2 separate regions of the Homo sapiens genome follow, and region 1 is linked to region 2. Evidence: promoter capture Hi-C in human tissues and cell types (Jung and others, 2019). All regions are on one chromosome and are shown on one strand. Each heading gives the region's core, a stretch centred on a gene start or on the middle of the fragment in contact. The rest is flanking DNA. Distances are from core to core; before and after follow the strand shown.

Region 1 (5,798 bases), core at 95-2,594, 81 kb after region 2:
GGCAGGGCTCTCTGTGCCACAGCCTCACATGTGCCCCCATGTCCCCAGACGGGGCTCCAGGATGCAGACGCTCTTTCCTCAGCCACCTGGGCCTCTCCTCCCCATGGACCTGCCAGATTGTTGTTAATTCTTTTTTTAAAGAAAACCACTCTATTGAGGTAAAATGAACATACAAAAAGCTGTATATATTTAATGTATACATTTCGATAAGTTTGGGGATACGTATGTACCTGTGAAATCATCACCACCATCAAGGCCATAAACACATCCATCACCTCCCAAAGTTTTCTCCCACCCCTTTATTATTATTATTATTATTATTATTATTATTATTATTATTATTGAGACAGTCTTGCTCTGTCACACACGCTGGAGTGCAGTGGCACGATCATGGCTCACTGCAACCTCTGCCTCCCAGGCTCAAGTGATCCTCCCACAGCAGCCTCCTGAGCAGCTGGGATCACAGGCACAGGCCACTATGCCCAGCTAATTTTTGTATTTTTAGTAGAGACACGGTTTCACCATGTTGGCCAGGATGGTCTCAAACTCCTGACCTCAAGTGATCCACCTACCTTGGCCTCCCAAAGTGCTGGGATTACAGCTGTGAACCACTGCACCCAGCCCCTTTATTATTTGTATTTGGATTTTGTTTTCATCACTGTTTTGATAATAACACTTACCATAAGATCAACTTGCCTTAGTAAATTTTAGGTATACAATGCAGTATTGTTACCTATAGGCATCATGCCACACAAATCTCCAGAGCTCATTCATCCTGGATAACTGAAGCTTCGTACCTTCTGATCATCATCTCCTCATTTCCCCCTCCCCACAGCCCATGAAAACCACCATTCTACTCTCTGCTTTTGAGTTTGATTATTTTAGAGTCCACATTGCTATGGTTTGAATGATGGCATCCCCTCCAAAATTTATGTTGAAGCCATCCCCAGTGCAGTAGTATTAAGAGGTATGGTCTTTGGGATGTGATTAAGTCATGAGGGCTCTACTTTTATGGATGGGATTAGCACCCTTATTAAAAGGCTCAAGGTCAAAAGGAGTGCTCTTTCACCCTTCTATCTTCCTCCATGTGAGGACACATGCATCCCTCTGGAGGAAGCAGCAACAAGACACCATCTTGGAAGCAGGGAGCAGCCTTCATCAGACACCAATGCTAGTGTCTTGATCTTGGACTTCCCAGCCTCCAGAAACATAAGAAATAAATTTTTGTTGCTTATAAGTTACCCAGTCCCAGATATTTTGTTATAGCAGCACAAATGGACTAAGATACATCCATAAATGAGATCCTGCCGCATTTGTCTTTCTGTGCCTGGCTTACTTTGCTTAACATAATGTCCTCTGGGTCAATCTATGTTGTCACAAATGGCAGGATTTCCTTCTTTTTAAGGACTAAATAATATTCCTTTGCATGTGTATACTATAATTTCTTTTTATTAAGTGAAATCAAGTCTATTAAGGAAGTAAAGGAATATAAGAATGGCTACTCCATAGGCAGAGCAGCCCTGAGGCTGCTGGTTGGCTGTTTTTATGGTTATTTCCTGATTATAGGCTAAACAAGGGATGGATTATTCATGAGTTTTTGAGGAAAGGGGTGGGCAATTACCAGAACTGAGGGTTCCTCCCGTTTTTAGACCATATAGGGAAACTTCCTGACATTGTCATGGCATTTATAAACTGTTGTGGTGTTGGTGGGATGTCTCTTAGCATGCTAACACATTATAATTAGTGTATAATGAGCCAGAGGTCACTTTCATTGCCCTCTTGGTTTTGGTAGGTTTTGGCCAGCTTCTTTACTGCACTCTTTTATCAGCAAAGTTTTTGTAACCTGTATCTTGTGCCAACCCCCTATCTCATCCTGTGACTTAGAATGCCCCACCTCCTGGGAATGCAGCTCCATGGGTCTCAGCCTTATTTTACCCAACCCCTATTCAAGATTGAGTTGCTCTGGTTCAAACACCTCTGGCATATTTCCCCCCTCCCTTTTACAAGGGAACCTTTAATCCTAAAGGCTGTAAGCAGATGAAGATCTATCTTCTTTAACTTCTTCAGGCTGAATAGGGGCAATGATATTCCTGCCTAACTATTAGGGCATCTCATACCCAGGGTAGAGAGGAGCTGAGTCAGAAAGCATCGGTATGGTGAAAAACAGTTCAAAAACAACTGATAAGACTAGAATCTGATAACAAGTGTACCACAGTTTTTGAAACATAATTTTTCTCTCCCCTGTCTCACATTTTTACTAAAGACAAATCATGGTAGAATGAATTTGTTTGCAAAAATAAGCTTTAGTCTTATACTTGGCCAGATTATTTGTAAAGTGCAGCAAGAATAATTTTCACATAGGCTTTTTTAATTGGCTTTGATGGAACATTGTTCCATAAAATGAATCTCAGATAAGACTTTTTACGAAGCCAAGCGCAGCCTTGAGTTTGTACCCTCAAATACCTATAAGTTGGGAAATTCCTTTTCTCTTGTGGTCACAAGGTAATTTGGGGCTCCTGGGCCTGTTAGAAAGTGACATACTTGGCCAGGCATGGTGGCTCATGCCTGTAATCCCAGCACTTTGGGACGCCAAGGAAGGCACATCATGAGGTCAGGAGTTTGAGACCAGCCTGGCCAATATGGTGAAACCCTATCTCTACTAAAAATACAAAAATTAGTTGGGCATGGTGGTGTGCACCTGTAGTCCCAGCTACTTGGGAGGCTGAAAGAGCAGAATCGCTTGAACCTGGGAGGCAGAGGTTGCAGTGAGCTGATATTGCACCACTGCACTCCAGGCTGGGTGACAGAGTGAGACTCCATCTCAAAAAAAAAAATAGTGACATTCTTTACTTACCACAGGTTGGAAACCCTGTACAGGGACTATGCAGACAATGTATGAGGCCAATTTTCCAAGGGGCTTTTATTGGCTCTATAAGTCAATTTTGATTCTTAAAAGGAAAACATGCCATTCCAGTCAAAGCCTTGGTAAATTAAGTAGTTTCTCCAATTGCATCCTGTTACAAAAGAAAACAGATTATTATTGCACTTATGCAAATAACTATATTGCCACAAGTTAAGAATACTCAGAAATAGTTTTCAAATTCTGGAGAAGTCAGGTAGAGAGAAACAAATATGCTCCAAATTTTGTTCACAGGAGTATACCTTTCTCAATTGTTAAAAGCTGTATATAGCTCAAAAGAAAAGTTTCTTTGACTCTGGAAAACAAAACAAAGGATCCTCAGCATTTCAAGTAAAAATTTTCAAAAAGATTACTTCAGTTTTCTATTAGATCAGTCCATGCAGTTACCTCTTGTTCTGTTTGATATTCATGAACATTTCAGCTCTCCAGGAGAGTTCTAAAAGTTTTTTTCCCCTATTTTAATGTCACAGTCTCCAAAGTTATCAGAAACCTGCATACAGGAACATCTGTCAAAGTCCTATAGCTGATTATAAACCACATTTTAAAGAGGATCAAAACAAGACAATTGTCTGTGAGTGACAAAAAAATCTTAGGACAGTCACTATTAAAGCCAAAATTGACTAAGAAATTTGGTTACTTCTTGCTGGCTGTCAAGATGGCTGAATAGGAATAGCTCCAGTCTGTAGCTCCCAGTGAGATCAATGCAGGAAGTGGGTGATTTCTGCATTTCCAACTGAGGTACCCAGCTCATCTCATTGGGACTGGTTAGACAGTTGGGCGCAGCCCACAGAAGGCAAGCCAAAGCACGATGGGGCATCGCCTCACCTGGGAAGCGCAAGGGGTCAGGGAACTCCCTCCCCTAGCCAAGGGAAGCTGTGAGAGACTATGATGTGAGGAATGGTGCATTCTGGCCCAGATACTATGCTTTTCCCACAGTATTGGCAATGCGCAGACCAGGAGATTCCCTTCGGTGCCTATACCACCAGGGCCCTGGGTTTCAAGCACGAAACTGAGCAGCTGTTTGGGCAGACACTAAACTAGCTGCAGGATTTTTTTTTCATACCCCAGTGGCACCTGGAATGCCAGTGAGACAGAAATGTTCACTACCCTGGAAAGGGGCTGAAGCCAGGGAGCCAAGTGGTCTAGCTCCACGGATCCCACCCCCATGGAGCCCAGCAAGCTAAGATCCACTGGCTTGAAATTCTCACTGCCAGCATAGCAGTCTGAAGTCCACCTGGGATGCTCGAGCTTGGTAGGGGGAGGGGTGTCTGCCATTACTGAGGCCTGAGCAGGTGGTTTTCCCCTCACAGTGTAAACAAAGCCACCAGGAAGTAAACAAAGCCACTGAATTTGGCAGAGCCCACCAGAGCTCAGCAAAGCCACTGTAGCCAGACTGCCTCTCTAGATTCCTCCTCTCTGGGCAGGGCATCTCTGAAAGAAAGGCAGTAGCCCCAGTCAGGGGCTTATAGATAAAACTTCCATCTCCCTGGGACAGAGCACCTGGGAGAAGGGGTGGCTATGGGCTCAGCTTCAGCAGAGAAACCTTCCTGCCTGCCAGCTCTGAAAAGAGCAGCAGATCTCCCAGCACAGTGCTCAAGCTCTGCTAAGGGGCAGACTGCCTCCTAAAGTGGGTCCCTGACCCCCATGCCTCCTGACTGGGAGACACCTCCCAGCAGGGATTGACAGACACCTCATACAAGAGAGCTCCAGCTGGCATCTGGAGGGTGCCCCTCTGGGATGAAGCTTCCAGAAGAAGGAACAGCCAACAATCTTTCCTGTTCTGCAGCCTCCACTAGTGATACCCAGACAGGGTCTGGAGTGGACCTCCAGCAAACTCCAGCAGACCTGCAGCAAAGGGGCCTGACTGTTAGAAGGAAAACTAACAGAATGGAATAGCATCAACATCGACAAAAAGAATGCCCACACAAAAACCCCATCCAAAGGTCACCAACATCAAAGAACAAAGGTAGATAAAGCCATGAAGGTGAGGAAAAACCAGTACAAAAAGGCTGAAAATTCCAAAAACCAGAATGCCTCTTCACCTCCAAAGGATCACAACTCCTCACCAGCAAGGGAACAAAACTGGATGGAGAATGAGTTTGACAGAAGTAGGCTTCAGAAGGTGGGTAATAACAAACTCCTCTGAGCTAAAGGAATGTGTTCTAACCCAATGCAAAGAAGCTAAGAACCTTGAAAAAAGGTTAAAGGAATTGCTAACTAGAATAACCAGTTTGGAGAAGAACATAAATGACCTGATGGAGCTGAAAAACTCATGAAAAACTTCGTGAAGCATATACAAGTATCAATAGCTGAACTGATCAAGTGGAAGAAAGGATGTCAGACATTGAAGATCAACTTAATGAAATAAAGTGTGAAAATGAGATTAGAGAAAAAGAATGAAAAGGAACAAACAAAGACTCCAAGAAATATGGGACTATGTGGAAAGACCAAACTTACGTTTGATTGGTGTGCCTCATAGTGACAGGAAGAATGGAACCAAGTTGGAAAACACTCTTCAGGATACTATCCAGGAGAACTTCCCCAGCCTAGCAAGACAGGCCAACATTCAAATTCAGGAAATACAGAGAACACCACAAAGATACTCCTCGAGAAGAGCAACCCCAAGACATATAATCAGATTCACCAAGGTTGAAATGAAGGAAAAAATGTTAAGGGCATTCAGAAAGGTCGAGTTACCCACAAAGGGAAGCCCATCAGACTAACAGCAGAACTCTCTGCAGAAATCTTACAAACCAGAAGAAAGTGGGGCCAATATTCAACATTCTTAAAGAAAAGAATTTTCAATCCAGAATTGCATATCCAGCCAAACTAAGCTTCACAAGTGAAGGATAAATAAAATCCTTTACAGACAAGAAAA
Region 2 (5,916 bases), core at 1,510-4,009:
CCTTGGGCTGTGTCCCGAGGAAAGGCAGGCAGAGGGGACTGCCTGGCCCTATACCTGTGCCGCCGCTTCTTCCTCTTGCCCAAGGTGGGGGATGCCTTTAGGTCATTCCTGTCTTCAGACTGGCTGTCCTCATCTGATGGCACAGAAAGAAGAAGAGGACTTTAAGGGTGATCATATCCCCTCTATTTCCTGGATTTTAATGTGAGGATTGAAGTTATGAACCTCTTGGGTACTTAAGTAGTTTACAGTATGAGCCAGCATTTTTAGTGCCTACTAGATCCCAGGCTCTGTGCTTAACACTGTCCATACATTATCTCAAGTATTCTTAATATAATAATAAAACACCAAAATGGCTGCTGCTATTATTATCATCCTATTTTTACAGATGAGGAAACTGAGGCACCGAATGGTTAAGTAATTTGCCCAAAATCACACAGGTAGTAAATGGTGAAGTTGAGAATTCAAATCCCAGATTATCTGAAGCCAAAACTACTCAGCCACTGATTGCACTTTCTATCCCCACACTGCTTCCAAACACATCCACCCCTATGCCCCCAGCCTCATCATCTTAACCTCTACACCAACATTTCCCAAAGGAAGTCTGGGGCTTGTGACATCAGAACCCTCGTCAGAACTGCAACCCTTCCCTGATGCACCAAATCAGAATCTCTGGAGGTGGGATCTAGGAGGCTCATTCTTGACAAGTGTGCTCAGATGATGTGTAGTTGCCCTTGAAAATTTGAGAACCACTCCACTGTGCTTTACCTTTTTATATCCAATACATCAAAAAGTCTAGATGGAAAAGAAGGTTAGAAGGCCAAACTATTGTGAGATTCATTGCTAGAAGGCATAATTGCCTCAAAATATCTTTAAAATGAATAAAGGCAAAAATAACTAAATAATACTAGTTTTACTCATCCATCAATTAGTTCACCAGAAACCTGGCTTGGATTAAAACATTCTGTATTGGGCTGTCCAACCTGATGAGACATGAGACACATAAGGTTATTAAGCACATGAAATGTGGCCAGTAAGATCAAGACATGCTGTAAACATAAATCACTTAATGGAGTTAGAAGACTTAGTGCTCCTAAAAAGTAAAATATTTTTGTATTGATTATGTGTAAAATGATAATATTTGCTATCATTGTTGGGTTAAAATATAGTATTTAGATTCATTTCACTTTTAATGTGACTGTGAGAAATTTCCGTCAAACATGAAATCACATTTCATTTTTCTTGGACAGCTCTGCTCCAGACTTTCAGAAATGCTGGCAGAGTTGGATTTAGCTGCCTTTGGTTTTGTAAGAAAGAACCCATCCCATGAAAACAGTTTTGCATTTTTAGTGACACTAATAGGGAGTTTCATTTTATCTTACGTAGAGCTCATGAAATAAAGTCCTTTTAGAGTGGAGCAAAAACCTGCCTGCCTATTGATCTGACATGCTTCCTTTTAGTATCAGAAGACCCAGTCTACTCTTTTTGCCTTGGCTGCCTGGATGCTCAGCTCTAGATTCTACCACATACCATCCTTTCTTGTGTAATTCTTTCTTTTCTCTCCCACACCCAAAACCACTCGTTTCCTTAGCCCTTGTCCTTTATAGAATTTCATTGCTTCCTTCTCTTTCCCCGCGACCCGTCTGGATTTCTTTGGGGAAATGGGTAGGCCAGGAACACATCTCTAGGCGTAACTACAATGAATCCCCAAGGTTGCTTCTTTCTCCTGCACAGGGGACTGGGAGGACGCTGCGCCGGCAGAGGAGCGCGGTACCCGGGACTCCCTTTTCAGCACCCCAAGGGGCGGACAGTTCCAGGGCTCGAGGCCCCGTACTCTTCCAGGACCCGTCAATCATTCGATCATTTCCGCCCGCGTTTCCACCTGGTACCTTGTTCGGTGCTGCTGGTGACCACCACAGGCCCGGGCCTTCCCGACCCACGCAGCTGCCAGAGGCGGAGACTGGCGCCTGGCGCTGGGGGGAAAAATGGCCCTCTGGAGATGGTTGTTGAAGACCCCAGGGTCTCATCAAAAGGTTCCACCCGGAACCAGGTGGTGGCGGTCTCACATCGCTGAGGGAACAGGACCCCGGATGAGAGGCAGGGATTTAGGATGCAGCAAGGGGCAGGCGGCGCAGCTCCGCGAATGCCCCTCCCGCGACGGGGCCTCGCTCTGGGCTCCCCGCCTAGATCTGGGCCGCTGGGGCCAGGGGTGCGGTGGGGCGATGGTCTGTGACCCCTGCGCGGCTCAGAGCCTAGGGGACAGGGGCAGGAGCGGAAAGCGCGGGCCTGATTACCGGACGTGGAGACGCTGTCGCTGCGCTTCTGGCGGCCGAGCGCAGGCGGCGGACGGCTGGGAGCCAGCGGGGCAGCGGGCTCGGGGCCCCTGGGCGGCAGGAACGGCACGTCCGCTAGGAGCAGGCAGGGTGCTCGAGCGGCCGCCGGCGGCTGCGTGCCGAAGCCACAGAGGAGGCCGAGTCCCAGCGGTAGGGCCCCACGCGCCAGGCTGGAGCCGTCAAGCCCCGGGCCCGGGCACGGCGCGACTGCCGGACCCTCGCAGCCAGATCCCTGTCCTGGGCCAGCGGGCGCCGGCAGCTCGGCCTCCAAGCCCAGCAGGTCCGTGATGGCGAAGCCCCGGGGGCGCGAGCCCCTAGGGGAACCGCCAGGCACCAGCGCCCTGCTGCTAGTGCGCCCGTCGGAAAGCGAGTCCCGGCCGGTCATGGTTCCTTAGCAAGCAAGGCGCGAGCCTCTCTGGATCCCGTTTGCGGAGGGCCCAGCTTAGAGGAAGCTTTATAGGATTGGGCTGCCGGTCGGGCGCGGGAGGCCTGAAGGGCTCCAATCAGCTGGGCGCGGGCGCGTCGCCGTTCCGGACCCCGCGAGATGGGGACGCCACCAGTTCCCCTCCCCTCGGTTACCGCCCACCCAGCTGCAGTCCCCTCAGTCACCTCCTTCTCCTCCTCTCTTCTGTCCAGCCCACCCCACCCCACCCCACCCCCATTCTAGGAGGGAGGGGAGGAAAGAAGGTAAGGGACAGTGACTCCGCTGTCTGCCTGTCCCTCGAAAAGTCGCAAGTTCTACATCCTGGCGTGGCCTTCTCCTTCCTTCCAGACTCTCTGGGTGGAGGCCCCACTCCCAGCTGCCCTGAAGCTTCTTTGATGCGACCCAACTGCCTATTAAGACCTAGGACCCCATTCCCAACCACACCCCGATGGCTACCCCATATATGTCCCCAGCCAGCCCTCCACCTCCGCCGCCGGTGCCACGAAGGCCTTCCTGTAAGAAGGCCTTCTCTGAAAATCCCCAAGGGGAAAGGAATGAAAACCGTGTATTTAATCCATGGTCATCCTACCTCCATCCCTTTAATCCATGGTCATTCTACCTCCATCCAAATCCACCCCCAGGTCCATCCCCAACACTCCACGGGCTGAACTGTAGGGGGTGGCAGACTCACAAGAGCTGGGGAAAGGGAGAGAAGCAGAGAGAGGAGTGGACTGCCCGGGGCTGAGACGGGCAGGGTACCAGGTTTAACCAACAAAACACTGTCGGCTCAGTGAAATGTGATTTCAGATAAAAAAGGAGGGCTTTTTTTTTTTGTAGGAGTATGTATCAGTATTTTATCCAGCAACCCTAAATTGGGGAGGAGTGGAGGGAGGTAAATTGAAATAAAATAGAGTCTGTCTACTGGAAAGCACACCTTTTCATCGGGGCTTACAATTTATTGTCCAATTTCACGATTATTCAAAGAAAGCCTGATTCTTTGAATAATCAGTGAAACTCTGATATTCGCTAAAGTTGGCCCCAAGCACGTGGGTAAGTAACTACTGGTTCGCGCTTTGAACCCAACCAGCCCTCATCGCTCGGAGCCCTGCGTCCCCCGCTTCCCAATCCCAGAACCCCGGAAGCAGATCTCCTCAGTCCCACTCCCTGAGGGTCCTACAGTCCGAGGTCCCGCAGCGAGGGAGGAGCAAACGCCTGAGCTCCGCGGGAACCCGGCGCGGCTGCCTGCGCGCACGCAGGGACCGGAGCCCGAGCCTGGGCCCTGCAAAGTGGGTCTCCCACTCGCTGCGCGTTCGAGTGGGGCCTCCGCTAAACATGCAGATTAAACAAGGGGCTTCCGATAAGGATAATTACAGGAGGCTGCGCATTGACTTTCCGTTACTAAAGGAAGACCCAAATCTCCCCCTTGCAAGCTGTTCCCGGGATTACCAAAACAATCACTTTCTTTTGAGATCATTGTCTTTTGAACCACTCCAGCTCGGGGCAGAACGCTTTAGACGCTGGCGTTGTTTTCCGCTCCGCGAGGAATTTTCCCCCAGATTTATCTCTGGGTTTAGGGAAGGCGTTGGGCATTCGGGACTGCGTAGTCGTTTGTAAATCCGAATTTGGGGTAGCAGTTAAGTGAGATACCTACGCTTCCACACAGTTTGTAGCCCGAGACCAGTCAGGCAGGCAGGGTAGTCGATTCTAAGGTGGCCCGACCGGGGTCGCCCGCGAATGGAAAGCCTAAGGGGCGAGGGCGGACGCGGGCGCCGTGCCTGCAGCCCCGGGTGCCGACCAAGTGGCCTCACCTGGGACAGGTCTTGGGGTCTCCCTCCCCTAGGTCTCCCTGGAAGGTAGGCGATCACGGGAGTGACAGACCCCGAGTAGATAGCCAGTGATCCAAAGACACCAAAAGGCCAGGCGGTAGGAGCCCAGCCTCAGACACTCTCTATAGTGACCGCGGCGCCTCGGGAAGGATCGTCTTAAACTCATTTTGCAGGTGAGAGCAACTGGGACTTATTAACCCAGTCACATCGGACACAGAGACGTGGCGAGGGCGACACAGAGCAGGAGACTCAATCAAGGAGCCCGTATTGGAGCTCTAAGGGGACTCAGAGATGCAGAAGGAACGAACTTCTAAGGGGTCTTGCAATTCCTGGACTGGGGCGTTCCTAATGCATCCCGGGACCCCAATGCCAGGGAGGGGCCTGCAGGACCCCAGCGGTGGGCGAGTTGTGTCCTGGGTCACCTTGTGTTTCGCAGCGTGGCGGTGGCAGGAGCCCAGCGCGGGAGGACATTTTCATAGCCTCCTACAGTGAGAAACGCCCCCCACCCGACGCTGCGCTCATCTGTGTCCCCGCTGTTGCCGGGGCTCTGGTATCCACTTGCGCGCCCTATGTGGTGGGGATCCACCCAGAGCCCAGCGTCAAGTTATACGGGCGCTTCACTCAGCGTCAGCCAAGACCAGGGAAGCGCTTCTTGCCGTTTAGGAGACGTCTGCAAGAGATAAAAAGCTAGCCCACGATCCACCCACAATCCTCGTGTCCCCGGGGTGCCCTCGCAGTTGCCAAACCTACGGGCCGCGTTTAGGGGAAGCCTCCGCGTCCTGGCGGCCAAAAGAATGGGCTCCTTCCAGCTTCCCCCTACCGGATACCACCTGCAAATCTATTGCCAGAGGCGCAGCTCCCGCGAACGTTCCCGCCCCGGGCGGCCCCCAGGAGTCGTTTTGGGTCCCTAAATCCGTTGAGGGTTCCGAATCTGTCTTCATCAGCCAGGATTACCCGGGATTTAACTAATGAATAAAGGTTCCTCAGCTCATTATTTTCTAAGGAAGATTTCCAGCCCCTCTGTCGCCGACCGCGAATGTGCCTTGGCAGCGCCAGGCTGAGGTTGGACCTGCTGTGAGTGGCTCAGCAGGCACCCCTCTTGGGCTTCTCAGAGCCGCGGCTGGCCAGGCTGGCGCGATAAAGTGCTCAGACACAATGGGGTGGGATGCCCCGAGAAGGTGAAACGGATCGCCCTGTGAGTCTGCAGAAATGACCCCCCACGGCTCCGTTCTTCTGATTTTCCTCCCACCTCTGGCTGCTCCATCTCGGATGCTTTTGTGTCTTCAGTTAAAAGTCCGGGCACAGTGGCTCACGCCTGTAATCTCAGCACTTTGGG

The links. Contacts are between HindIII fragments. The study calls those that stand out against the background at their distance.
Region 1: a contact is called between a fragment that was not itself captured here and the fragment with the promoter of VSX1 in region 2, in 2 of the 25 tissues and cell types used here (aorta and neural progenitor cells).

The regions. Positions count from the first base shown.
Region 1 is chr20:25,162,073-25,167,870 of GRCh38, forward strand. It overlaps the pseudogene NIPAL1P1. Among named protein-coding and RNA genes, the nearest start is that of ENTPD6, 31 kb to the right of the region's middle. The HindIII fragment of the contact is 4,276 bases long and covers 1-3,482 here.
Region 2 is chr20:25,079,382-25,085,297 of GRCh38, forward strand. It overlaps VSX1 (visual system homeobox 1), which reads right to left and starts at 2,760. Exons shown (of 5, transcript NM_014588.6): 1 at 2,292-2,760; 2 at 55-133. The coding sequence starts at 2,715. RefSeq lists enhancers at 2,749-3,278, 4,042-4,646, 4,647-5,252. The HindIII fragment of the contact is 6,188 bases long and covers 463-5,916 here.